Linked DNA regions of Homo sapiens: all the other regions are linked to region 3. The links are contacts of gene promoters, found by promoter capture Hi-C in blood cells and fetal thymus (Javierre and others, 2016). All regions are on one chromosome and are shown on one strand. Each heading gives the region's core, a stretch centred on a gene start or on the middle of the fragment in contact. The rest is flanking DNA. Distances are from core to core; before and after follow the strand shown. Region 1 overlaps LOC124902787 (a long non-coding RNA gene). Region 2 has its middle 71 kb from the start of LINC02098. Region 3 holds the start of FLI1 (Fli-1 proto-oncogene, ETS transcription factor). Region 4 overlaps LOC124902786 (a long non-coding RNA gene). Region 5 overlaps LINC02098 (long intergenic non-protein coding RNA 2098). Region 6 has its middle 150 kb from the start of LINC02098. Region 7 has its middle 54 kb from the start of LINC02098.

Region 1 (3,798 bases), core at 1,080-3,579, 380 kb after region 3:
AGGAACGTATTGGGAACTGGAGTAAAGGTCACTCTTGCTATGCTTTAGCGAAGAGACTGGGGCATTTTGCCTCTGCCCTAGAGATCTGTGGAATTTTGAACTTGAGAGAGAATACTTAGGGTATCTGGTGGAAGAAATTTCTAAGCAGTAAAGCATTCAAGATGCAATCTGGCTGTTTTTAAAAGTGTATACTCATATACATGAACAAAGAGATGATCTGAAACTGGAACTTATATTAAAAAGGGAAGCAGAGCATAAAAGTTTGGAAAATTTGCAGCCTGACCATGCAGTAGAAAAGAAAAACCCATTTGCTGGGGAGAAATTCAAGCCAGCTGCAGAAATTTGTTAATAGCCAAGACAATGGGGGAAAATGTCTCCAGGACATTTCAGAGACTTTCATGGCAGCTCCTCCCATTACAGGCCTGGAGGCCTAGGAGGGAAATATGGTTTCACCTTGGGACATGGCACCTTGCATCCCAGCCACCCAAGATACAGCTCAGGCTGTGACTTCCTAGGGTGTAAGTCCCAAGCCTGGTGGCTTCCACTTGATGTTGGGCCTGCAGCTATGCAGAAGGCAAGAGTTGAGGTTTGGGAACCTCTCCCTAGATTTCAGAGGATGTATGGAAATGCCTGGATGTCCAGGCAGAAGTCTGCTGCAGGAACGGAGTCCTCATGGAGAACTTCTACTAGGGCAGTGTAGAAGGAAAAGGTGGGGTTGGAGCTCCCACACAGAGTCCTCACTGGGGCACTTCCTAGTAGAACTGTGAAAAGACAGCCACCATCTTTCAGACCTCAGAATGGTAGATCCATTGGCAGCTTGCTCCATGCACCTTGAAAAGCCACAAACACTTAATGCCAGCCAATGAAAGAAGCCACTGGGGCTGTAACCTGAAAAGTCACAGGGGTGGAGCTGCCCAAGGCCTTGGGAGTCCACCTCTTGCATCAGCATACCCTGGATATGAGACATGGGATAAAAGGAGACTATTTTGGAGCTTTAAGATTTAATGACTGCCCTACTGGGTTTTGGACTTGCATGGTGCCTGTAGCCCCTTTGTTTTGGCCAATTTCTCCTAAATGGGAGCATTTACCCAATGCCTGTACCCGCATTGTATCTTGGAAGCAATGAACTTGCTTTTTATTTTGCAGGCTCATAGGCAGAAGGGACTTAATTTGTCTCAGATGAGACTTTGGACTGTGGATTTTTGAGTGAATGTTAAAATGAGTTAAGACTGGGGAACTGTTGAGAAAGAATAATTGTATTTTGCAATGTGAGAAGGACATGAGATTTGGGAGGGGCCAGAGGCAGAATGATATGGTTTAGATTTGTGTCCCCAACCAAATCTCATGTTGAATTGGAGGAGGGGCCTAGTGGAAGGTGGTGTATCATGGGGGTGAATTTCCCGCTTGTTTCTCTCATGATAGTGAGTAAATTCTCATGAGATCTGATGGTTTAAAAGTGTGTGGCACTTCTTCCTTTGCTTTCTCTCTATCCTGCAGCCATGTGAAGAAGGTGCTGACTTCCTCTTCACCTTCTGCTATGATTATAAGTTTCCTGAGGTCTCCCAGTCATGCTTCCTGTACATCCTGAGGAACTGTGAGTCAATTAAACCTCTTTTACTCATAAATAACCCAATCTCAAGTAGTTCATTGTAGCAGTGTGGGAACAGACTAATACATGATTATATGCCAGATAACAGACAAGTAATACTTCTATTATTACTTGAGTTTAAGAGCCCTAGTTCACTCTGTGTTCTACCAAAATTCCTTTGTTTCATGTTTGAGAAAGAAACAGATTAAAACCATCATGTAGAAGGGAATTTATTTTCTAAAATCCTTATCCTTATACAGTAATTCCACCTTATCCTAAAGGGATGTGTTCCAAAGCTTCCATTGGATGTCTAAAGCTACAGATATGATTGAATTCTTTATATACTATGTTTTTTCCTATATATACATACTCATGCTAAAGTTTATAAGTTAGTACAGAAACAGATGAACAATAACTGAAAATAATATAGAACAGTTATAGCAATATACTGTAATAAAATTTATATGAATGTTGTTTCTCTCTCTCTCTCTCAAAGTATCTTATTGTACTGTACTCACTTGTTTTTTGACCTCAGTTGACCCTGAGTAACTGAAACTGCAGAATGCTCAACCTCCCCTGATGAGGTGGGACAACTGTACACAAATAATATGAATTCCTCTAAAGAGGATTAAGAGGTCAGGTTCTTTACATTTTGGTCTGCATCCTAGCATTTCCTCAAAAAAGTGTTTCAGGCATTGGAAAATTGTATTCTGGAAGAGGTGCTCTCCAATAGAAATATAATATAAGCCATGTATATAATTTTAAATTTTCTAGTAGCATCATTAAAAAAGAAACAAGAAACAGGTAAAAAGTATTTTAATAATATATTTTATTTAACCCAATATATCTAAAATACTATCATTTCAATATGCAATCAATATAAAATGATTCCTGAGATATTCTCCATCCTTTTTTTATCCAAATTCTTTGAAATCCAGTGTGTATTTCATACTCACATTTCAATTTGGACTAGTCACATTTCCATGCTCAACAGTCACATGTAGACACTGGTTAATATTGGTCTAGAAAACCCATCATATGAGAAGAAGCTATTTATTTTTCTTATGTCATGTATGATTTTGTTGAGAAGATATCAGCATCAGAGTCAATGGGTCTAGTGGTGCTAAGTTGAGCTGTAGAATTTGATAATGAATATTTATCAAGTTCTTAATGTGTTCTAAGCTTTGTTTTAGATACTGGGACTATAGTTGTAAATAAGAGTCAAAATTTACTCCCTTATGGAACTAACATTCTACTATGTGACACAGACAACAAACCAGACACATTTAATATAATCTAGGTTAAATGGTGGTAAGTGCTAAGGAAAAAATAAGGAGAGGTAAAGAGAAATAGAGAATGTTGAGACGGCAATCTAAGTTTTAGAAATAGTTGCCAGTTGCCTTCTTAATTAAAAGGTGACATTTAGTTAAAGACCCTCTGGCAATATTCCATGAAAATTATGACCTTGGATAACTTGGATTTTTAAGTAAACATTGTTGAAATGTATAGGTGAGTTTTTCTCTTAGATTTAAAGGTTTCAGGCCAGGTGTGACTCTCAGGTGAACTTGAGGAAGGACTGTCTAGAGGTCTGAGCCCTCAGAAAAGAGGCTATGTAATGACTTCATAGGACAGTAAACATAAGTGAACATGTTAATGAGACACAGATGGAACAAAATTCTCATGAAGAAAAGTTTCAAGGTGGTAACGAAATTTTGACTTAGCGTCATATTATATTGGACAATTTGGAATCCCCACTTTAACCTTATATTTTGATAAACTTGCTTTGCAGGTTTCAATTCTTCTTACCATTATAAACTTCTTACTTTTGTTTTGTTTTTGAAAGTCAGTACAGAGCCTTGGCAGTGTCATACAGAAGCTCTTGTGTTACAGGTCCCTTTACTTCTAGATTAGTGGGTTTCCCCCTTTCTCTGGTGAATACAAGATGAGTTACCCTCAATGAGGCTCATAAGCAAGTGTGTCTTTTGAACTGAAATGGTGTTCAGTGGGTGCCCTGTGCAACTGTGGCCTCAAAAATAGTTGTAGGGTGACCCTGACTTACTCCTTTCTAGGTTTCCCCTGGACTGAGCACTATGAGGAGAGAGACCTCATTGCATTCCCCACTCCTTTTCTCTCCTTGCTGAGACTTGGTCCAGAACCTCACATCCTATACAAACAGTACATGCTGAGGGCAGATGTGCTTAGAACACCTC
Region 2 (3,630 bases), core at 179-2,678, 410 kb after region 3:
AATGAAACAGAAGTTAGGAAATACATAGTATAGAAAATCCAACCTTCTTTCATAGATATTCCAGAAAGAGTGCACAGGGAATAGTGAAGAAGCAATATTTGATAAGCTAATTAATGAGAATTTTTCAGATTTGAACACATGAATATTCACATTTAAAAAGTGCCCAAAGTATAGAGGCAAATTTTTAAAAGTCCACATCGTAGGCATTACAATAAAATATAAGAATATCAAAGATAAACAAAGTATTAAAAACTACAATGGAGAAAAGAAATATTACGTATAAAGGGAGAATATAAAACTTCTCCTAAAGAACTCTGAGTGATAGAAAAAAAGGAAAGGATATGTTTAATGTATTAAATAGCTTTGAAACTAAAATTATATACCTACCTAATTGAGCCTTAAAATGAGAAAAAGATAAAGAAATGTTTAGACATCTAAAAATTAATAAAGCTTCAGTTAAAGAACTATTAAAGTTATACTATGGCAAGAAGAAAGTAAATTAGGAAGAGAAAAAATGGATTGCATAGAGAAATGGTAGATAAAAATATTGGTTAAACATTAATTAATCTAAACTTGTATAGAATGTAAAAATAATGGTTTCTGCTTAAAATAAGAATTGAAAGAAAACATTAGACAGATACAGCTTAGAAGACGCAAAGAGAGGGTTTAGGGGGAATATTAATGTACTCTAAAGTCACTACTTTCTTCACAAGGAAGATAAAAAACAATTTTTTTTGTTAGAAAAAGTAGAAGATCCAGTTGTTAATTTTAAAAATGTAAACTCCAACAAAACAGAAGTAGAATGTATGTCTTTCAAGTCAGTAAAGGAATAAAAGAAAGTAAAGAAAACTCTATTGAATTTCCAGTCAAGATGTAGTGTTATTTTCAGCCCTATTACATGGTACAGTAGACTAGGAGTTAGAAGTCAGAAGACCCAGCTCTGGTCTTGGCACTGCCCATAAATAGCTGTATCTGTTTAAATGAGACACTTTCTCTTAAAAATAGTTTCTTCCTATAATAAAATATTTTTTTTTTCTGAAGAACAACAGCAAAAAGATCTAGTGTTATTTTAGGCCAGGCATGGTATCTCAATGCCTGTAATCCCACCACTTTGGGAGGTGGAGGTGGGCGGATCACCTGAGGTCAGGAGTTCGGGGCCAGCCTGGCCAACATGGTGAAACCCTGTCTCTACTAAAAATACAAAAATTAGCCAGGCGTGGTGGCAGGCACCTGTAGTCCCAGCTACTCAAGAGGCTGAGGCAAGAGAATCACTTCAACCAGAGTGGCAGGGGTTGCAATGAGCCAAGGTTGTGCCATGGCACTCCAGCCTGGGCAACAAGAGAGTGACTCTGCCTAAAACAAACAAACAAACAAAAAAACATACTGTTATTTTATAATTCAAGAAACCTTCTGTGTTGCTAACACTTAGCAGTAGCAGATAAAATTAAAATAGCTTAACAAGAAAGAGAGAAAGCAGAATAAACATGTATAAAGAGAGTTTAGAAATCAATGAGAAAATAATGAGCAGTGACCTGGCTGAAGTCTGAAGTCTGCTGTGTATGACAGCATGGGGTGGAGTGGGAACATTTCTTTGTGTTTTTAAAGCTCATTTGGGGTTCTGGGGATTGCGATTGCCCTATGCATTGTGGATGCCAGAGCATTGCTTAGGATTTAACAGCAGAGGTGGGGCAAAAAGCTCATGAAAGAAGAATGAATAAAAATAGCTCTATTTGCTGTTTATGACTTAAGCATAGGAATGGGAAGACAGTCACTGTCAGCTGCTCTCTGGCTCATGAACTAGGTTGTAAATTTCACCAGTATCACAATGGAACAGTGTGTGTGAACTGCTAATATAAACTCTGCTTCTTGAAGGGAGTCCCAGGGGTTCCATGGGCTTAAACCCCATACTGCTAGGCAACAAGGATGTGATAGGGGAAGAGAAATATGAAGCATGCTAATTTTTCTGTTATTGTCAGAGATAGACAGAGACATCAAAAAACGTGTTGTTAGGAAAAGAATGTGTATACGAGTATGTAAGTTAAAAATGTAAGGGTAAATTTTAACTTCCAGTAAAGTGGAATAATGAATGGCAAAGCAATGTTTCTAATAAATTATAACTTAAAAAGCCAGATTAAAATAAAAAAAACATTTAAAGGCAGGGAGCTGTGGATGCAACAAAGCTGTCAGAGAAGAAGGTTCTGGAGAGGAGGAATTGCAGGGAGGTGAGTTGATCATCTGCAGCTACTTTGGGAAGTAGTTTCTGATTCTGGTGCAGATAAACTTGTTGTTTACCTGAAATTCAAATTTAACTGGGTATTCTGTATTTTTTTTTTTTTTCCTAGCAACCCTGGGCTTGAGTCAGGGAAGTGACGTATGGCTGGAGACAGAGTAATTATCGAAGCTTTGGGCTACAGTGACAAGACGGAGGTGCCTAAAACACACATCTAGACTAGTCGTTGATGTGGACACTGAATTACAAAGCCGTGTGGGATGGAACACTAAAAAGCCAAGTCAGAAACCTCTAAAAAGGAGAGGATTTCACTCTGCTAATGAGAGAAGACAAATCTAACCAGAAGAGGAGACCCGGTGAACACACAAGCTCTTGGTTAAAAGCCCCGATTAACACCATAAGAAAGAGGTGAGCTAGAAATAGGCTTAGCCTTACTAAATTTAATATGAAGTCTTAAATCAGCTCAGTCTCTACTGAGCTGATCGGCACCCCTCACACTATATTTGCCTACCATTATAAAAAGGGTTAAAGTGATCCGTACGTACTCTACCTGCCTACGAGAAAAACAAACCAACAAACAAATGACAACAAAATCAAGACAAAACAATAAAGCCCTCTTTAGAGGAAGAAAACACCATCTAAAGCAATAGAAACATACCCCTAAAGATCCAGGATTGGACTTATCAGACAGGGACTATGAAATATTATGATGATTACGTTAAAAAAATGGAGGGTAAAATGGAGAATTCCAGCAAAAACTTCAATCCATGAATACAAATCAAATGTAAATTCTAGAATTGAAAGACATAATAAACAAAGTTAAGAATAGATGGCTCTGATGGAAAATTAGACACAGCAAAAACAGAAGATCTTTAAACTGGAAGACAGAATAATAGAAAGTATACAGTTTGAATGCCAGCAAGAAGACAGGGTGGCAACTGAAGTAAAGAGCATAAGAGATATGTAAGTCATGGTGGAAAGAGAAAAAAAAAGACTGACATATCTGTTCTCAGAGTCCCAGAAGGAGAGGGGGAGGAGTATGAAACAGAAGCAATATTTGAAGAAACACTGGCAGAGAATTTTCCAAACTGACTAAAGACATGAAGAAAAATATTCAAGAAACTCAGCAAGCCCTATTCATAATATTCTATGCCATGGTATTATAACTTCTGTAAAGCAAAGACCAAGAGAAAATTTCAAAAGCAGACAGATTACAAATATGTGCATTATCTTTAAGGGAACAGCCTTAAGGACAATGGTGAACATGCCAACTGAACTATAAAATCCAGATGACAATAAAATAAGACCTCTAAAGTGCTGAAAGGAAAAACAAAAACAAAACCCTTGCTATTCAGAATTCTCAACTTAGTAAAAATATACTTTAAAAATGAAGGTGAATA
Region 3 (3,721 bases), core at 836-3,335:
CCTTGGCCTGAAGTGTCAGGTTCCTGCTCTAAGCCTGTTCTCGAGGCCTGCCATGCCAATCCCTGTGTGTATCTAAAGAGGTTAGCACATCCTGGGTACACAGACCACAGCTTCCTCCTTTTGCTCAGGGCCTGTGCGTAGAGTTTAAGCAGTGTGGAGATATTTCTTCACTTTTCCTTAGGGTGTCCACATCAAGACCCTGAGGCCATCTTACCACCCTTCTGGATCAGAAGAGGCCTTCAGAGTAAGTGGTAACTGTCCTGATTGGGGCGAGGGAGTTTTCTAGAGGGGAGCATCTCATTACTAAACCCAGAAATACAGAGACACTTGCATGAACACATCAACAGGAAGCAGAGAAACAGGCATAAAATGGCCCAATGACCCCCACTCTCGGGTCTTTGCAGGAATCCCCTCTCACCTACTTCTCACCTACTCACTTTGGGTTTGAGGAACCCAGGCTCTTATAGGCTCTTATAGCTCCCTTTAACCCATCACAGTCAGTTATCTCATCTCCAGATTTGCAAGTTCCTTCGGTTGGTGTCTTTTACCTAAGTCAGCATATTTCAAACTTTCATAAAAAAAACTTAGAAAATAAAAACCACGACCCCACCCAGAAGATAAAAATCTCTTGAATTCTCTGAGCCCAACATCTTAGCCTTCTCTTGCTGAGCCCTGAGCAGGGAGTCGATTCTTTCGGGTTCTGGGGAATGGCGGGCTCTGCCAGTCCCCACCTCGCCAGCCTAATAGTTTTTCCAGACAGACTCCCGCTTGGTGTTGCGCGGCAGCCTCGAAGCTAACCCCTGGTCCCATTCATTCCCCTAGGTCCTCTAAGGCCCGTCACGTTAGGGGGTGTCCCTCCTCTCTGCTCCTGGCCCTACTTGGCGAACCCTTTCAGAGACAGCAGTCAACTTTTCTGAAGTGAGACGCGAACCCAAACCCTCACCTTTCCGCCTGGGTTGCACTTTGCAACCTAGACCCAGGCTTGGCGGCGGCGGCTGGGGTGGGAATGGCCGGGCGGGCGCGGGGCGCGGGCTCACAGCCGGCCCCTGCAACGGAGGCGGCTCCGAAGGACGCAGGACCCTTTCGGAGGCGACAGCTCCAGGAGCCCTGGTCCTGGAGCCGGCGCACGCCTAGGCGCGAAGGGCGGGGGCTCGGGGCGCTAGGGATCTGTGCGGACGGGGGCTGGGGAAGGTTCCCCGCCGGAGAGGCGGCGAGGCCGGCCCAGGAGTCCCGCGGAGCCGGCGGCTCTCCAGCGCCTAGAGCCGGGCGACTGAGTGCCGAGAGGAAGGGAAAGCGCTGACATGTAAACAGGGGCTTCCATCTGGAGGAGCCCGCTCAGATAGATCCCCCGACACACTCACTTGCACCCCTACCCTCGTGCAACGAGGCCACTTACCCACCCCAGGGCCCACCAGGCAGGGACCCGAGCCCGGGCGACTGCAGCCCCCGCCCCCGCCGTGTTCCGCCTCTGCGGAGAGGAAGCCCAGTGCCTAGCGCTGGGGCCACGGGAGCCCCGGGTGTCGGTGGGAGTGGTGGACCCCGAGGTCTCTCGCCCTTGACTCCGTTCCGTACCCTGGGGTCCCCCGGTTTCCCGCCGTCCCCTCCTGCAGCCCCGGCGGGCAGCGAGGTGGGAGGGGGGCCGGGGCTCCACTTTGGGGGCTGGGATTTCGGGGGAGGGTCGCCCTCAATGCGGGCGCCTGGCCGGCTGGCCCGCGAGTAGGACTCGCCACCCGAGCGCCGGAGGAGCCGGCGCGAAGCCGGGGCGCGGAGGGAAGGGAGAGAGGCCACGTCTTCCGGGACGCGGGCCCCGCACCTACCCGCCCGCCGCTTCGCCTCCCCGGCCGGTCCCCGCCGCCCGCGTCCGTTGCCCCGCCGCTTACCTTAATAGTCCCGTCCATTTGGCCAAGTCTGCAGCCGAGCCCCCCAATATTCCACACATTGACCCGGTTACAGCCTGACCTCGCAGCCCCTTCGGATTAGCCCGGCGCGGCCTCCCTGGCGCCCTGGGCCCTCCCTGCGTGCCCCCTGCGAGCGCCCTGCCCTCACTCCCCTGTGCACGTTTGTTGTTGTAGCGGAGCGAAAGAGACAGTTAACCGGATGAAACTTTTTTTTCAGCTAATTTTGGGAAGTGACTTCACTTTGCGAATCGGGGAGGAAGTCCTATCTCTCTCTCTCTCTCTCTCTCTCTCTCTCTCTCTCTCTCTCTCTCTCTCTCGCCTCGAGCTCTCCTCTCTCTTCTCTCCCCTCTGCTCTCCCTCGTCTTCCCTCCCCCCCCACACCCCCTCTTCCTCCCCTGCTGGTCCTGCTTTTCGCATCACACACTATATAAATATACGCGGAGATGCCCAGACACATTCATGCGCTGCGCACACAGGATACTTGCTCCTGGGAGATAAGAGCTAGCCGGGAACAATGACGGGGTCCACGCCCAGCGTCCGCGCCCTGATTCCCGAAGTCTGAACCTCCCCCCATCACCTTCCCCCAAAATCCAAAGCCAAAGACCTTTGGCTTCTTTGCTTTTCCTGAGGCGGTTGGCCGAAGGTGGCCCTCCTGACTCATTCACTTTCCGTTTCTTCCCACAGATACGTTCATTAATGCTTTTTCCAGCCGGAGACAAACTTTTTGGGGGTGGGGTAGGGGGGGTATGGAGGGAGAGTTGGCTAGGGCTGCGGGTAACCCAGCGCCTACTGCCGGGGAAGACTCGGACGAAAACCGAGGCAAACCAACCATTAAAAAGTGCATCCAATAAGAATTTTTCCACTCAGGCCCTCCGCTGCCGAGACGCGGCAGACTCCCAGAGCGGCTCACCCACTCATCGAAGCGGATTCTGGGCGGTTTCGGGCTGACCCGCGCTGTCAGGGCGCGGACTCCATTCCGGGCGCATTGTTAGGAGAAGGGGCCCCTCGGGGCGGCGCGCCTCGACCCTGGGCTCCCGGTGCCCGCAGAGGGCGGAGATCCGCGGCGCCCTAGGCCACCTATCCGCATCTTCTCGAGCCAAACCCCCAGCGCTTACCCGGACCCGACGGCCCAAGCACTGACTCCCAGGCAAGAGTCGCCCTTCCTGGTCCCCAGGGAACTGACACTACCGCGGGACGTTCCCTCTAGGACAGTCAGCAGGTCCCAGGAGCGCAGCACGCAACAGCGCAGAGCAGACCCAGACTTTTCCCGGGGTGAGACCCGGAGGCCCGCGCTCTGGACCGTCCTCCCTACCCAGCCTGGAGGCCGGCGTTCCCCGGCCCAACCCGGAGACCTCCCCGCCTCCCTCCTGGGCCGCCGCGCGCCCCAGTTGGAGCAGCCTCGAGGGGCTGGGCCCTTTCGGCCGGACTCCCTTCTCCCGGACATCCAAAACAGGTTACCTTGTCCACGCTCTCCGGACCACGCTTTGGACTTGCTCACTTTTATTTAAGAGTCCGACGGGGGAAAGAGGGAAAAAAAATCCAGAGGAGATCCAAGTCAATTGGAAGAAAAAATTTCAAAAGGGTGTCCACAGAGGCGAAAAAAGGTGACTTATTAATTCTTTATTTCTTCAGGAGCAATTGAGCCCGAGAGCTCACTCGTCTCCCTCCCTCCCCCTCCCTCTCTAGAAATTAGTCTCATCAATTCGGCTCCAATTTTGGGTTCGAATACAGACACGGGTCTGAACGTGACCAGACCTGGAGTGGCGGGTGCAGCCTGCCAGCAATTGAGACTTGGTGTGCGTGTTGGGGGTGGGGGTGGGGTG
Region 4 (3,288 bases), core at 491-2,990, 400 kb after region 3:
GAGTCTCCTTAATCATTGCACTCAGAGAGCACAGGTCTTGGGTCTGAGCTCCAGTTCTACACCAACTAAACCCTGCACTTAGATAAATCGCCTCTTGGAGGTCATTTCAGTTTTAAATTGTGGGTGGTCATAGTACCCATCTCCTATAATGACATCATGAATGCAAATGCATATTACAGACAGGAAGTGTAAAACAAATATGAAAAGTTCTTGTTGATACTTTTCATTAGAACATATAGATGCAAAAGACTAAGGCGTAGAATGGAACACTCTTATCTATTCATAGCTAGTGCTGAAGATGATGCCAGATAATACATAAACAGGCTAGGAGCACTGGATTGCACTAAACATTGTAGTATCATCAAGTTAAAAAATGAAAGGCAAATCAGAGGAGTAACGCCTTTGTGAACAGGCAAATGTCCCTTTCCACGACACTAAAAGCTCTAACCTTCCCATTTGCCCTTTTTCAGGAGACAATCATTCTAGTTTCATGCCCTTTATCATCTTAGTTGTTCCTACTGAGTGAAAAGTCATCTGGCGAGGTTTGCAACCTAGTACATTTCCTAAGAGGCTTTGTTCATGACAAGGCTGCTTTACTAATCTCAGGAAGCTTCAAGTTTTCTCAAATTTCCAGTTGTAAGTGAAAAATGTACTGGATTGTCTCCCTTTTATATGTTAAAATAATGAGGCATTATTTCAGCACCACCCTTCCCTGTTTCTTTGTTCTAAAAATATAACTCAAGGATTCTGCCAGGTGTTAATTAATCTTCATTAGTCTCTGGAGGGCAGGCAAAGACCTAAGAATTGAGAAATTAAAGCACAAATGTTTAAACAATTAGTATAGAGACTTATCCAAGGTCACCAAATGAGTAACAGAGAAAACGCAGAATCCATGGCTTTCTGATCTTGTCCCCAAAATCCCCCAGGAGAACCATCTTGCATAAATACTTGCATGGCCAACATTTGTAAGAGCAGATGTTTTATCAAGCCAGCTGTACAGCAAGGCCCACCCTTGCCTATCTATTCCTATCTGCTTTTATTATGCTTTGGGGCTCTCGCATGATAAGACCTCCCATATGGTACTTGTATTAACATTAAATAATGGCCATTGTATTGTGTATACTATCACCATAGAAATATTTACTTAGTTGAACACAGACACCGGTCAAGCATGGTGATTAAAAACAAGCTAATCATAAAAACCATTCATGCTCACATCTATTTATAAAATCTGTTTCACTTGTGCCAGTTAAGTATAGGCTTTGTTCTAAACAAACACACGCAAACCTTCTGCACACCCAGAACCATGAAAGGCACCCCTCCTCCCTCTGCAGAAAGCCAGGCTGTGGGGAATGGCCCTATGTGAAGCATCAAGCGTGTGTCTGAGGCTCAACTAGGCTCCTCTGCAGCTGGAGCTGGGCCTGCTGTTGACTTTTACTTTCTTGCTCCTTCATCTCCTCACACTGACACCCTGCCTGGGGTCTCTCAGCCCTCTCATTCTCAAACTACGGTGAGCTCAAAGGCAGCTGGGGTTTTTGTAGTAACTGCAGATACTCCAGATCCACTCATGAGATCTTGTTTGAACTGCTCTGGATGAAATCTAAGATATGATATTCTCAGGAAACACTCAGGTGGTTCTGGTCTTGGGGTCCACATTCTCCACTTGAGAAACGGCCTCTCTAGGGGCATTTCTTGGGACCTCTTGCCTCCTGCCACTCCTTGCCCACAGCAGTCATTGTGGGGTCATCGCTGACACTGCCGAGGGCTGCCTTTAATGCCCTTAAATTTTATTTCAATGGACACCAGTGTTTGTTATAAATGTGTTCCTTAAGTCGTGTGCAGTAAAGTGCATGAGAGCCTGGGCTTTGGAGTCAGAGAATTTGAGCTTTGCTTTGCACTTTGCTGATCATGTGGCCTGGTAAAAACTGTCTAACTCTTTGAGTCCCCATTTTTTTTTTTAACATTTAAAATGGGAATGATAATAGGACTTGCCTCACTGAGGTGATGTAAGGGTGGTGACAATAATACACTTAGAGGATGCAGTGCCTGGCACACCATTTAGGCTACCAACATCACCAGTTGGGAAATAAATTGAGTTGAACTGAGTGGTCCTTTTGGATCAAGGTATTAGAAAATGCCACCTCAGGAAATGTGATGTAAAGAAAAAGACAGAGATGACCTGAATTTGATACCCAGCTCTGCTACCAGAAGGCTGAGTGGCTTTGGCCACATCCTTCTTCCCCTCTGGAAGAAGTTTATAAGATGTTATCTATGAAATTAGGGGACAGGTCCAGAGCAGTGGTTTCCAAACATTATGAACAGGGAAATCCCTTCCAAATATCAATACAGTCATAAAACATACTATAGTTTTTATACTCATGATGGCTCATTGACACTTAATAGCAAAAGGATTTTATGTATTTTGTAATTTTAAAAAATGAATTTACCTTTATTAATTCCAGTCTCATTTACATTTATTTGGGAAATAGTCCTGCTGGTTTTGTATTTTGTATAAGTGGTATTATTTCTAAGACAACAACATTAGGCGAATCGTGAAAGAACTCCACTGCCCCTGGTAGTCACAGACTTTCAGAGTGGGAGCCCCTGGTCCAGACCATTGGTTTTTTATAGATCCCTCCTGTTAACAAAGGCAGTTGTGGAAACTCAAACTCTGAAACAGACACTCTCAGAACTGTTCTGGAAATAGGAGCTGAGGGCCTAATTTAGTTGTCTTCTTTCTCTTCCCTCACTCCTCATCTTCAGCCAGGAAAGATCTGCAAGGCAGTTTTGTTAATTTCCTAGTAACTGAGCACCTCCTGTAGGCAGGCACAGTGCTAGATGCATAGGTTATGTCAGAGAACAAAGCTTCATGCCATCGGGGGCTTCTTTCTAGTGGCCGCGTGCCTCTGAGGTCACTGGCCTGACTTGTCTCCATGTTGGCTCTTACTGTCTGATGCTAGATTCCTGGGCAGACCCAGGATAAATAAGTGAAGCTTGCCTTTGGTCACTGGCTCCTCTTTTGCCTCCTTCTTTTCTGTTTTTTATTGTTTCTTTCTCCACCTAGGTCACATTTTTCCAGGACCAGGAACTGTGTTTGTGATTAGGGACAAACATCTTTCTCCTTCCAGGCTTTGGTTCCCATATTTAGGAAACAAGGGCTGATCCCTAGAGCTACAAGACCCCATCTAACTCTGTAATTGAGTCTAATTAATTCAGCAGAAATAATAGTACCTCATTTAGCCCAACTCTCTTATTCTTCCCCCAGACACTCAAATAGACACTTGGTGG
Region 5 (3,571 bases), core at 572-3,071, 470 kb after region 3:
TGGTGAAACCCGGTCTCTACTAAAAATATGAAAAATTAGCTGGGTGTGGTGGTGCGCACCTGTAATCCCAGCTGTTCTGGAGTCTGAGGCAGGAGAATCACTTGAACCCAGGAGACAGAGGTTGCAATGAGCCGAGATTGCGCCACTGCACTCCAGCCTGGCAATAGAGCGAGACTCTGTCTCTTAAAAAAAATAAAATAAAATAAGAAAAGAAAAAGAAAATGTGGTACATGGTACATATACACCAGGGAATACTATGTAGTCGTAAAAAGGAATGAGATCATGTCCTTTGCAGGACATGGATGGAGCTGGAAGCCATTATCCTCAGCAAACTAACACAGGAGCAGAAAACCAAACATCACTTCTTCTCACTTATAAGTGGGAGCTGAACAATGTGAACACATAGACACAGGAAGGGAACAACACACACTGGGGTCTGTCGGAGGGGGAAAAGCATCAGGAAATACAGCTTATGCATGCTGGGCTTAATAACTAGGTGATGGGGTGACGGGTGCAGCAAATCACCATGGCACGCATTTACCTATGTAACAAACCTGCACATCCTGCACATGCACCCAATAACTTAAAATTTAAAAAAGAGAAAGAAATCACAGCCAGTTCTCATTTGTGCTGAGGGGAATTCAGCAGGGGTAACCAAGCAGAAGCCAGGGCTCCCTGCTGAAGCCACAGTGCAGGTGTTAAATGTTTGGTGATTGCCCTAGTAATGCACTGTGTGGAGAGGCTAAAAACTGCTTTCTCCTTTGAGATCTCCTTGATGCCTTATCTTTCCAGGCTAAGTCAATCCCCCATTTCCTCCGAAATGTGTGTGATATTCTGAAGTGGAAATACTCTGAATTCCAGTTGCAGCTAAGGGCTTACTTGAGCATAGAAGAGGTTAAGTCTTCCGACTTAGGTCTCCTTTGTGGCTATTTGAAAAAATTCAGAGATGAGGATCTCCTTGGGTTCAGGAGATTGGTTTCCCAGGGGGACACCCAGAATCAGATTCCTGCACTGAGCAGACTTTGCATGGCTTCCCATGACCTGCTGCTATCTCAAGAATTTTTAAGTACTCAGAGAATGCCTTCTTGTTTATAGTGAAAAATAATTCAAGGTTTGAGGGATTTATTACTCAAGGCTGAAGGATAAACCTCTGCATTCTTCATTTCGGACCAAGGTGGCTCTCCCTAGAGGCTCTCAGCACCCTTGTTTCTTCTGGGCCGCACACTTCTTTTTTCAATAAGCTTCCGAGGCAGATAAGAAGAGGTGACCTCTGTCTCTACCCACTCTTCTGAAAGGTGGAGTCCACAGAACAAGTCTTGCATTTATATGAAATTGAAATCATTCATTGTTTAAAAGGCATTTATTGAGCATCTGCTGTGTGCAAAATATTGTTCTTTATGTTGTGAAAAATACAAAAAATAAAAACCCAAAACAGAAAACGACCAATCAGAATACATTATCTCTTTCCTCAAGGAGACAATACAGGAGAGAGGAAAAAGATGAATAATGTTACATCTCAAGCCAAAAGCCTGGACACTACCTTGTGAACTCCAAGGGAGACATTCAAGGGTGTGGAGAAAGCCCAAACATGCGAAGGCAGAATGTATACTTTATTTATCTCTGGGGTAAACAAAGACATGGAGGCAAAGATATTTTGTAGGATAGTTCAGGCTGAGTCCACAGCACACATGTTGTGGAGTGCTGGGAAATGAGATTGAAGGTGGAAATGGTAGACTGAGGCTATGCTGTGGCATGTTTTGGATACAGAATAATACTGTCCTGCCCAAAATCAGCATTCTTTGATTGCATGAAGAAAGTGGAATTTTATGATTAATCTGGTGCAGTTAGTAGGAAATCAGAAATAGGAAACTGACGCAGCATGGTCAGTGATGATAATTTTAATACACGTATTAACTGGTTAATCTTCCTAAGTCATTTATAATATATAGGGAAGACATTGTCTACACTTTACAGATGAATACATTGAAGGTCAGAGGGGTTAAATGACTTGTTAAAAGTTACACATAAGAGCCGGGTGCGGTGGCTCACGCCTGTAATCCCAGCACTTTGGGAGGCTGAGGTGGGCGGATTGCCTGAGGTCAGGAGTTCAAGGCCAGCCTGGCCAACATGGTGAAACCCCATCTCTACTAAAAATACAAAAAACAAAAAAAATTAGCCTGGTGTGGTGGCACACGCCTGTAATCCCAGTTACTCAGGAGGCTGAGGCAGGAGAATTGCTTGAGCCCGGGAGGTGGAGGTTGCAGTGAGCTGAGTTCATGCCACTGCACTCCAGCCTGGCCTACAGAGTGGGACTCTGTCTAAAAAAACAAACAAACAAACAAACAAAAACAAAAGTTACACATAAGATAAAAGGACCAGCCTTCACTTAGACCCAAGCTTCTTTACTCTCTGTGTGTCTTTGGTATTCCAAGTCCATCTTGTTCCAGAAACAACTAATCAGACCTCTTCTAAAATGTTCTGTAAAATTTAAGTTTTTGCAAACATAAGGTGGCTCTTGATCCACAGAGGTGGGAGGTGGGCATAATTATGCAAGATATCTTTGCAGAGATTTTTTAAAAGCAGAGGAAATATATGCTGACTTTCTAAATTCCACCTTTTTATTTTTTAGGCAAGGTCTAATTCTGTCGCCGAGGCTGGAGTGCAGTTATATAGCTCTCTGTAGCCTTAACCTCCTGGGCTCAAGTTATCCTCCCACCTCAGCCTCCCGAGTAGCTGGGACCATAGGCTTGCACCGCCATGCTGGCTAACGTTTGCATTTTTTGTAGAGATGGGGCCTTAGCATGTTGCCTGGGCTGATCTCTTATTCCTGGACTCAAATGATCCTCCTGCCTTGGACTCCCAAAGTGCTGGGATTACAGGTGTGAGCCACTGTTCCCAGCCTAAATTCCACTTCTTGAATAGTCCTGTCCATTTCAGTGTCTTGTGATGAAGAGATTTTATTTGAAGACTAGTGAAAATATAGCGAAATTCATTCAGTGCTGAGATACTCCCTGCTAGTGAGTAATTTATAAAGGCAAGTTATTTTTCTTAGGCGAATAGGATGTGACTGAACAATTATTATAACACTTCTGTGTTCATAGATCCAAAGCTACAGCTTTTCTTATTGCTAGAGGTGGGATGTCACATCGTTGTAACTTGGCAACGGATAAGTTTACCAAGTTCTATTCAACATAACTTTTTTTTTTCTGGCTTCATTTATGATGCAAGGGACTGTTGGGACTCCAGGAGGAAAAAGACTTTTTATCTAGAGAAAAATTTAGCTTATTTAGAGTCAGTTCTCTCTGGGGTTTTAGGAAAAACATCCAGAGTTGCCATGATTTGCCTCTTCCAATACTTCCTGGTTGTAAAACTTTCTTTTTAAATAATCTCTCCTACTCTTCCTCTTCTCACCCTACACTGTGCCCACCATTACAGATATATGGATATAAACTCAAGGCGCACATGAGCTGCTGAGACAGGGAGAGAATTCTATTCATTTGGCAGAAGTGGATTAAGGAAGAGACAGAGGCAGTCGGTTCCTACGACACTCACCAGAGGCTTGTTTTCTGGT
Region 6 (3,782 bases), core at 642-3,141, 330 kb after region 3:
TAAACCAAAGCTGAACATAAGGATTGCACATAAGGGGAAGATTCAGATGAAAGTCTCGGCAACATGGGCTGATAGAAAAGTCTAAATAAGTGGAAGGCAACCAGTGCTGGGCTGGGTGACAGAAAGTAAGGGGGGTGCTGTCACATGGTAGAAGTGGTCCCTCTGATGGGGGTCCGCAGGTGAGCAGGAAGAGGTGTGAGAGGGGAGAGGCATTTGGAAGCTCTCAGGTCACTTTTAAGTAAGCAGTTTCCATCAGTGATGGGAGCAGAACCTAGATTATGAAAGATTGGGGAATGTGTGGGAGGAGATTAGAAAATAGGAGCTGGGAACAGTAACTCATACCTGTAATCCCAGGACTTTGGGAGGCCCAGGGGAGAGGACTGCTTGAGCCCAGGAGTTTGAGATGAGCTTGGGAAACATAATGAGACCCCATCTCTACAAAAACATTTAAAAAATTAGCTAGGTAGGGTGGCACATGCTTGTAGTCCCAGATACTTAGGAGGCTGAGGAGGGAGGATTGCTTGAGCTCAGGAGGTGAGAGAGAGAGAGAGAGAGAATAAAATAGGTATGATTATCTGAAACCTTTAAAGCTTTATGCCATTTATCACCATTGCATAACTTACAGGTGATTATAATAACATAAGAGGCTGTGGTGAATGAAGCTATTAAATTAGAACAATTTTAATTTAAATGTTAAAATGCATACAACATTGAAATGCCAGTGCCCTAATGAGGCAAGAGCCCTTTAAGCAAGAGGGTTTGGAAGGTGGTTTATAGAGACATCCCTAGAATCTTTTAAGGACCATGAAATATTTATTCAAAAAGTTGTCATAACTCAATTTTTTTCGGGAATATTTAGTTCCACTTAATGAATGCATTAAGCTCAGCTGTGTTTCTCAAAGAGCCAGCTGAAGGAAGTACAGAAGTGGGAACAGAAAAACAGAAATAGAAGACGAGCAAAGGTGAGAAAGCAAATGCAGAGCAGGAGGGGTGATGGCAGCTTCACACTGCTCATAGCGTTTGTTTATTCTCGAATCCCGGGAGTAGGTGATTTATTAAATAAGGCCCTCTGCAATCACACCGCCAACCTCTCCACTAAAAATAGCAGTGGGCTGGTTTGAACTTCATGTCAACCTCATATAAACTGGCATCAGTTGTGTCTGCTGTCCTTTGACGGTGTGAGGATTGGGACTCTCTGGGGCTGTCCATCCCTGTGCGCACCTTGGTTGTGGGGCCAGTACACTCCCTTCCGCCCACTTCTCATCAGCCCAGCAGAGTCCAGTTCCTGGTGGGCTGGGGAGCAACAAACAAGGCCAGGGTGCTGAGGACTCATTAGTGACCTGCCTGGCTGCCAAGTGTGCTGAGACATCAAGCTGCTTGTGGCAGTCTGTGGTTTGCTGGGAGGAGATTAATGAGGGAATAGAATAAACACGCACATTGGTTTCTGATAAGAGGAGGGCAGACATTTCAGGACAGGCATACAGCCTGCCTCACAGTCATCACTTCCCCTGGGGCCCATGTAAACACACACACTCACATGTGCTGATGCAGACTTCTTCTCAGCCCCAAACACAGCCAGCTGATAGGGAGGAAGGCCAAGATATAGGAAACATTTCTTTCCTCAGATCTTCAAACTCAATTATACCCATCCAAGAAACGAAATAGATCTTCTTATAACATGAGCTTAAAACTTGATTAACAGTAAGTTGAATTGGCAAACACATTTCTGCTGAGGATGTTGATTGGATAAAATATTTAAATGATTTTATACATGAAAAAATAGAGTTGGAGAGTATATGACTTATTTCAAGATTATCCAACAGTAGTGCTAATGTTTCTTTGGGAGACATGGACATTTTTGTGAATCTGATGAAAGCTAGAGACAGTGTCCCCAGAAAAATGAGTGCATGCATGCGCGCACACACACACATACACACACAAACACACACAGCTAGAAAGAGATAGAGACAGAGACAGAGATAGACCTACCGATGCCATTTCAGGAGGGTTGTATTGTCTCTGAAGCTCATTTATGGACTCCAAAATGGGTTCAGAATAAAAATCCTGGCCTAGCATATCATGGAAAATCTCACGTGGGTTAGAGAAATCTGAAAATTTGGTGAGAGTGCCCTACTAAGAATTTTGCTAGGTACTTGATGGATATTATTTCTACTTTTAATAACAATTGTGCAAGGTAGGCACCATTTACCTCCCTTTTACCAATGAGAATATTGTGACTGAGAGAAGCAAACTGACTTAGGGAGACGGGGTTTCCTAGTGCTTAGGAGCCTGGGCTCTGATGTCAAATTACATGGGTTCTAATTCTGTTTTTTCCACTGATCAGTTAGAAGATTCCAGACAAGTTTCCCATCCCTTTGTGTCTCAGGTTCTTCAGCTGTCAGTGGGAATAATGATGGAACTTATTTCATAGGCTCTTATGAAGATTAAATAATATAAGACAAGCTAAGTGCTTAGAACATTGACCTGGGCACAGTGAGCATGAGATACATTTTGTTGTAATCGCTGTTTAGGTCAAGGATCATAAAGCTATAAGTGGAGGAACCAAAAATCAAACTAGGTTTTGTCTGGCTGGAGCCTGTACACTTTCCTCCACACCTCGCAGGTTTCTAAAACCTGTTTTACATTTGGCCTTTGGCAAATCATGTAATGTTTCCAAACTTGAGTTTCTGCATCCATAAGATATAGGCAATGATAATAATAATAAAACACCTTCCTACTTTTTTGGAAGGATTAAATATGACAACAATAAGTACATTTTAGTAAACTGTCAGGTACTGTGCGAATATCCAAGGTTGTTACTATCAATGATGAAAGGATAAATCTAACTCAAAGGGCTTTGTGTTTTCACTTCTACACTTATGTTCATAGAATTAAATCTGTATCATGTGCAATCACCTTCAGATCTATCTTGGATTACACAAGTCATTGGGCAGGGGGTGGTCATGGTTCTGAAACAAAAATTCTATGATCTTCGTGACTGTTAAGGAGATAAGGTAGGGTTTAACCACCCCACTGGACTTTCAATAACATTTGGCTAAGGTAGGAAGAAAAAACACACACACTAAATGATTTTATTAAAACAAGTGTTTGAGGGTCACATTTATGTTTATTCCAAAATTGAAAGAACATAGTAGTAGCCAACAAGTTCATTATGTTGGCACAGAAGCTTATACTTTTTTAAACATCAAGTTCATTGTCCTCAGCTGGAATGCATGATTTCGGTTACTTTTCAAAAGGTCAGTTTATTTCTGTGAGTAATATTTCTGCAATGCTAAGAATCAGAGGCCAAAAGGGGAAAGAGGACAGGGCCTGTGGAACAGATTATATTCCTGTCTGCGATCCCTTAGGGAAACTTAGAAACCAGAGATTAGCTGTCCTAAAGTGGAGACTTCCACTCTGGAATGGCATTACGATGTTGAAAGAGACCCATTTAATCAAATTTAGTTCTATCTTGCTCATGGAGTCTAATTCCCTTGATATCAATTCAGGTCTTCTCTCTGCCAATTCATGTCTCTCAGCTCCTTCAAAAAGTAAGTCATAGTATATCATCAATTGACCAGGCACCTACTGAATGCCTAATACTTACTAGGCAGAGGGCTTATGTATGCACTATTCTCAGACAAAAGGTATGGGTTCTGCTTTCAGGCTGTCCATCCTGATGGAGAAGAGACAGACTGCCAAAAACCAATCACAGGACCTGCAAGGTGGAGCTCAGTAAATATCTGTTGAAGGAGCGGTTCCATGTTAGTAGAAGTACAAGG
Region 7 (3,790 bases), core at 452-2,951, 430 kb after region 3:
ATATGTGATAAATATGTCTCAAAATCACTGGGAAATATATTAAATAATGTTGGAGATATTGGAAATAAACTTAGAAGAATATATCCTTAGGTTTTGATATTAAATGCTATACATAAAGGAAATTCTGGTTGGTTTATAATTTAAATTAAAAAATCTATAAACATAAAATATATACAATACATTTTTAATCTTGGATAGAAGGCAAAGGGGAAGACAATCTTCCTGCATATATGACATTCTTATATCTATTTTCCTATTATTCATCTGTCTATCCATCTATCTACCTGCCTACACATGCACACATTAGCATTTGTATGTGTGTTGCATCTATATTCATATTCAAAATTGGATTATTGGTGGCTTATTTTGTGTGTGTATTTGTACCTTTTTTAGATAAAGTTAAATCTATTCTTCATCTATTTGCTCTTAAAAATTTTATTGTTTAAAATATAATAGTTATACATATTTTGGGGGATAGATGGCATTTTGATACATGTGTAAATTGTGTGATGATCAAATCAGGGTAATTGGGAAACCCATCACACCAGACATTCATCTTTGTTGCAATATGGATAGACCTCGAGGTCATTATGTTAAGAGAAAAAAGCCAGGCACAGAAAGACACATACTGCATGTTCTCTTTCATGTGGAAGCTGACAAAAATGGATCTCATGGAGGTGCTGAGTAGAATGGCGGTTACCAGAGGCTGGGCAGGCTATGGAGAGGGCATGAAGAGAAGTTGGTTAATGGGTGCAAAAATACAGTTAGTCAGAAGCAATATGTTCTAATGCTCTATAGTACAGTAGGGAGACAATAGTTAACAATAGTTTCTTGTATATAAATTATCTATAATATAATCGTATTTGAATTGAAATATTCTCAACATAAACCTATATTTTTAAATGAACAAAAGTCATCAACAATATTCAGTCTGTGAACAGGTACCATGTCTTTATGTGCAGCTATTAAAAGTGGCCAAATACAGAGCCTCCTTTTGGACCGAAGTAATATTTTCCACAAACTGAAAAAGAACAGATGGCCCCGGCTTTCCTGCAGCAATTGAGCCCATTTCTGGATACACCAAGGGTGTTCCTCTGCCTACCTTGTTCTGTGTTCTTCATCTACCATCCCTGCAGACATAGCCAGAGTGGGATTCCCCAGGGCAGAACCTGACAATGTGCTTCTCATCAGTTAAAACTCGTGCAACGGCTTCTTTTCCGTCTCTCTCCTTCCCCATTCTCTACTCATGTTTTCTCTGACTTGGCACTTTCATGCATAAAACACTGTAATGGTAAGCTCAAGCTTAGTATACCAAATCTGTTTCTAAGAAGTGTTGAAGCTCAGTTGGGTGGGTTTATAAGCGCTTTGTGAAAATCCAAATCTTGGGGCTTAGAATGTATTCATTCTGTCTGAAGAGAGTTCATTTACCCCTTCTTCCCTTTTTCTCTGTCATTAGCCTTCCTTCCTCTAGCCCAGCCCCCCTCCCTATGTCCTGTTTCTCTTCACCACCTCTGCCCCCACTACTCTGCATACACAGAGATAGAAAAGGATGATTGTATTCACATGGCCAGCAGAGTCTGTTATTTCTACCGTGCGAAAGTCAGGAGTGAGCGATTAGAGTCCAGCAGATCAGAGGATGCACAGAGAGAAGACGGTGACGGACTCATATTTCTGGGCCATGGAAGTGGGAGATGGAGAATAAGAGGCATAGCACAGCAGATAGGAGACAGTTTTGGTTTGGATTTAGGTCAGGATTTAGGCATTTCCCACAAATGGGAAAGGGAAGACATTCTAACAAAAAGGATTCATTTAGATCAGGATGTGATCTTTTGGGTTGAGAATCAAAGGAGTCAAACTGTAGTGGCTGCCTGAAGGGATAAAGGGAGATGGAAATAAAAGCACTTTACTAATTCCTGCCACTGAAATGTGGTATTACTGTTTTTTCCCCATTGAGCTCCTGTTTATTTCCTCTCAGGTGAACCTCTTGTGCTACCTCTTATCCAATGATTGTCAGCTTCTTCAGGCTGGAAGTGTCATGTCAATCAGAAATAAATGGGGGTGGATGAAAGAAGAATTTGAAGCAGAGCTGTCTTAAGCTTTACTCACGCCGGACAATGTCCGAATCACTATGATTTTTTTTCAGAAGAGGAAATCTCAGTAATAAGTGGAAAAGGTACAGCAGTATTAAACAGGAAGGTTTCTTGTCATCTTTTCTAATGAGTTTCTTTGATCACTGGCTATGCTCTTCCCCGCTAAAACCTGCTACTCTGAAGGAACATGAGCTGTTGCATTTACCTCCTTGTTGTCCCATGGCTTCAGGGCCTGCAGTGGATGGAGCTGACTTCATTTCTTTCTTCTCAATGCTAGGGATGATTTCTATTATGTACTTCTTGTGAAGTCTTATGCCCTGATGGAGATCATGTATTTTCAGAAGTCGTCTGGGAACATAATTCCATATCCTACTGATGTTGCTGATACGAACAGAAGGCAAGGGAGATACTGGGTAGAAGAGGGCAGTTCCCCAGCAAAGCCTCAAGCCTGGAAACCTACGGCCCTAAATGGGAACAGGCATTCCTGTTTCTGCACCCAAACGTTGCCTTTTGGCCTGCCACGCCCCCCATCCTGTACCCATATAAACTCCAAACCCCAGGCTCCATGAGCAGAAGAGCAGAGGAATAGAAGAGTGGCAAGGCAAAGAAGGAGAGAAGAGAAGAAGCATCTGAATATCAAGAGGAGTTCAGCTGGGGGCAGTTGGAGAGAAGATCAGCCGCAGGCTGGCTGAACTCCAGGTGAAGATCTCATCTTCCCACTCCATTCCCTTTCATCCCGCTGAGAGCCACCTCCATCTGGCAATAAAATTCCCAGCATTTACCATCCTTCAATTTGTCTGTGTGACCTGATTTTTCCTGGATGCCAGACAAGAACCTGGCTACCAAGAGGGCACTGAGCTGGTTAACGTTTAAGCTGTCTGTGGATGTCAGAGCTAAAAGGAGCACTGCAACAAGCCCATCAAGGTTTCAGGAGTTGCAGGTACTCTCCCCAGACGCTACTGTGGGGCTGGAGCCCAAAAGTGCTCATCCCGGCTCCTGCGCCTGCCTGTCTGAATGGTCCCCCTCCTGTAAGCGGTTTGAGCATGTGGTGGCCAAACAGATAAGCCACACCCCTCTAGAACTTCCTGTGAGGGGGGTCAGGGAACTCTCCCATCTCATTGCTTCTGGTTAAGATCTTCCATATGTAATTTGAATTCTACATTTTCGGAGTAAGCTCAGATCATGTTAATTTTGCTTTTGCTCTAGAATATTTTCTGTTTCCTATTTATGTGAGGAAACATTATAGCAGAATGTCCACATTCTAGACCTAAAGTATCTCCTAGCTGGTATGCCACAGTGGCTCATTTTCAAGGAGCTGAGTTACAGATAGGAAAAATATTGCCTGACTATTACACCTTTCTCGAAAAAGCTAAGCATACCCTTCCTGGCCCTGTTTTTGTGGGAATGCAGCAGCTCATATGAATATCATTAGAAAAAGAATAAACTCTCTCTACATCCCTTTCACTCTCATGGCATTAAGCAAGATCAGGCCTTGATTATAAGGCACGTGGGCTTTTGTCCAAGGAGCAAATTAAATAAGTGACCTTTTCAAGGAAAAAGAGGAATACTGTAGTACTCAATGATATCATAGTTTCTGAGAGCAGCCTGAGATCAAAAGTAAAGGCGGATTTTGAGGAAAAAATGATGCAATGAATGTGTGAATAAAAGTAGTCAGAAATTTGATCTAAGGTTTCAGATAG

What was found. The method cuts DNA at HindIII sites, captures the fragments that hold promoters and counts their contacts. A CHiCAGO score of 5 or more calls a contact.
Region 1: a contact is called between a fragment that was not itself captured here and the fragment with the promoter of FLI1 in region 3, in 9 of 17 cell types (total B cells, activated CD4 T cells, fetal thymus and 6 more). The highest score is 10.0, in total B cells.
Region 2: a contact is called between a fragment that was not itself captured here and the fragment with the promoter of FLI1 in region 3, in 13 of 17 cell types (activated CD4 T cells, total B cells, total CD4 T cells and 10 more). The highest score is 17.5, in activated CD4 T cells.
Region 4: a fragment that was not itself captured here is called in contact with the fragment with the promoter of FLI1 in region 3 in 14 of 17 cell types (fetal thymus, naive B cells, activated CD4 T cells and 11 more); the score reaches 15.2 in fetal thymus.
Region 5: a fragment that was not itself captured here is called in contact with the fragment with the promoter of FLI1 in region 3 in 5 of 17 cell types (total B cells, naive B cells, total CD8 T cells and 2 more); the score reaches 9.3 in total B cells.
Region 6: a contact is called between a fragment that was not itself captured here and the fragment with the promoter of FLI1 in region 3, in 4 of 17 cell types (total B cells, total CD4 T cells, activated CD4 T cells and 1 more). The highest score is 6.1, in total B cells.
Region 7: a contact is called between a fragment that was not itself captured here and the fragment with the promoter of FLI1 in region 3, in 10 of 17 cell types (activated CD4 T cells, total B cells, total CD4 T cells and 7 more). The highest score is 12.9, in activated CD4 T cells.

What each region holds. Positions count from the first base shown.
Region 1 is chr11:128,311,926-128,315,723 of GRCh38, reverse strand. The region is part of intron 1 of LOC124902787 (a long non-coding RNA gene); the gene reads left to right. Among named protein-coding and RNA genes, the nearest start is that of LINC02098, 110 kb to the right of the region's middle. The HindIII fragment of the contact is 886 bases long and covers 1,887-2,772 here.
Region 2 is chr11:128,278,111-128,281,740 of GRCh38, reverse strand. No RefSeq gene overlaps it. Among named protein-coding and RNA genes, the nearest start is that of LINC02098, 71 kb to the right of the region's middle. The HindIII fragment of the contact is 1,951 bases long and covers 453-2,403 here.
Region 3 is chr11:128,692,436-128,696,156 of GRCh38, reverse strand. FLI1 (Fli-1 proto-oncogene, ETS transcription factor) reads right to left here and starts at 2,085. Exons shown (of 9, transcript NM_002017.5): 1 at 1,881-2,085. The coding sequence starts at 1,898. It overlaps SENCR (smooth muscle and endothelial cell enriched migration/differentiation-associated lncRNA), which reads left to right and starts at 134. Exons shown (of 3, transcript NR_038908.1): 1 at 134-244; 2 at 2,766-3,502. RefSeq lists silencers at 1,054-1,183, 1,234-1,453, 1,494-1,543, 1,764-2,133, 2,817-2,956 and 1 more and a cis regulatory region at 1,865-2,597. The HindIII fragment of the contact is 9,137 bases long and covers 1-3,721 here.
Region 4 is chr11:128,295,282-128,298,569 of GRCh38, reverse strand. It overlaps LOC124902786 (a long non-coding RNA gene), which reads right to left. Exons shown (of 2, transcript XR_007062945.1): 2 at 2,421-3,288. Among named protein-coding and RNA genes, the nearest start is that of LINC02098, 88 kb to the right of the region's middle. The HindIII fragment of the contact is 2,255 bases long and covers 613-2,867 here.
Region 5 is chr11:128,219,932-128,223,502 of GRCh38, reverse strand. All of the region lies in intron 3 of LINC02098 (long intergenic non-protein coding RNA 2098), which reads right to left. Among named protein-coding and RNA genes, the nearest start is that of LINC02098, 13 kb to the right of the region's middle. The HindIII fragment of the contact is 1,156 bases long and covers 1,244-2,399 here.
Region 6 is chr11:128,359,255-128,363,036 of GRCh38, reverse strand. No RefSeq gene overlaps it. Among named protein-coding and RNA genes, the nearest start is that of LINC02098, 150 kb to the right of the region's middle. The HindIII fragment of the contact is 2,597 bases long and covers 593-3,189 here.
Region 7 is chr11:128,260,409-128,264,198 of GRCh38, reverse strand. No RefSeq gene overlaps it. Among named protein-coding and RNA genes, the nearest start is that of LINC02098, 54 kb to the right of the region's middle. The HindIII fragment of the contact is 794 bases long and covers 1,305-2,098 here.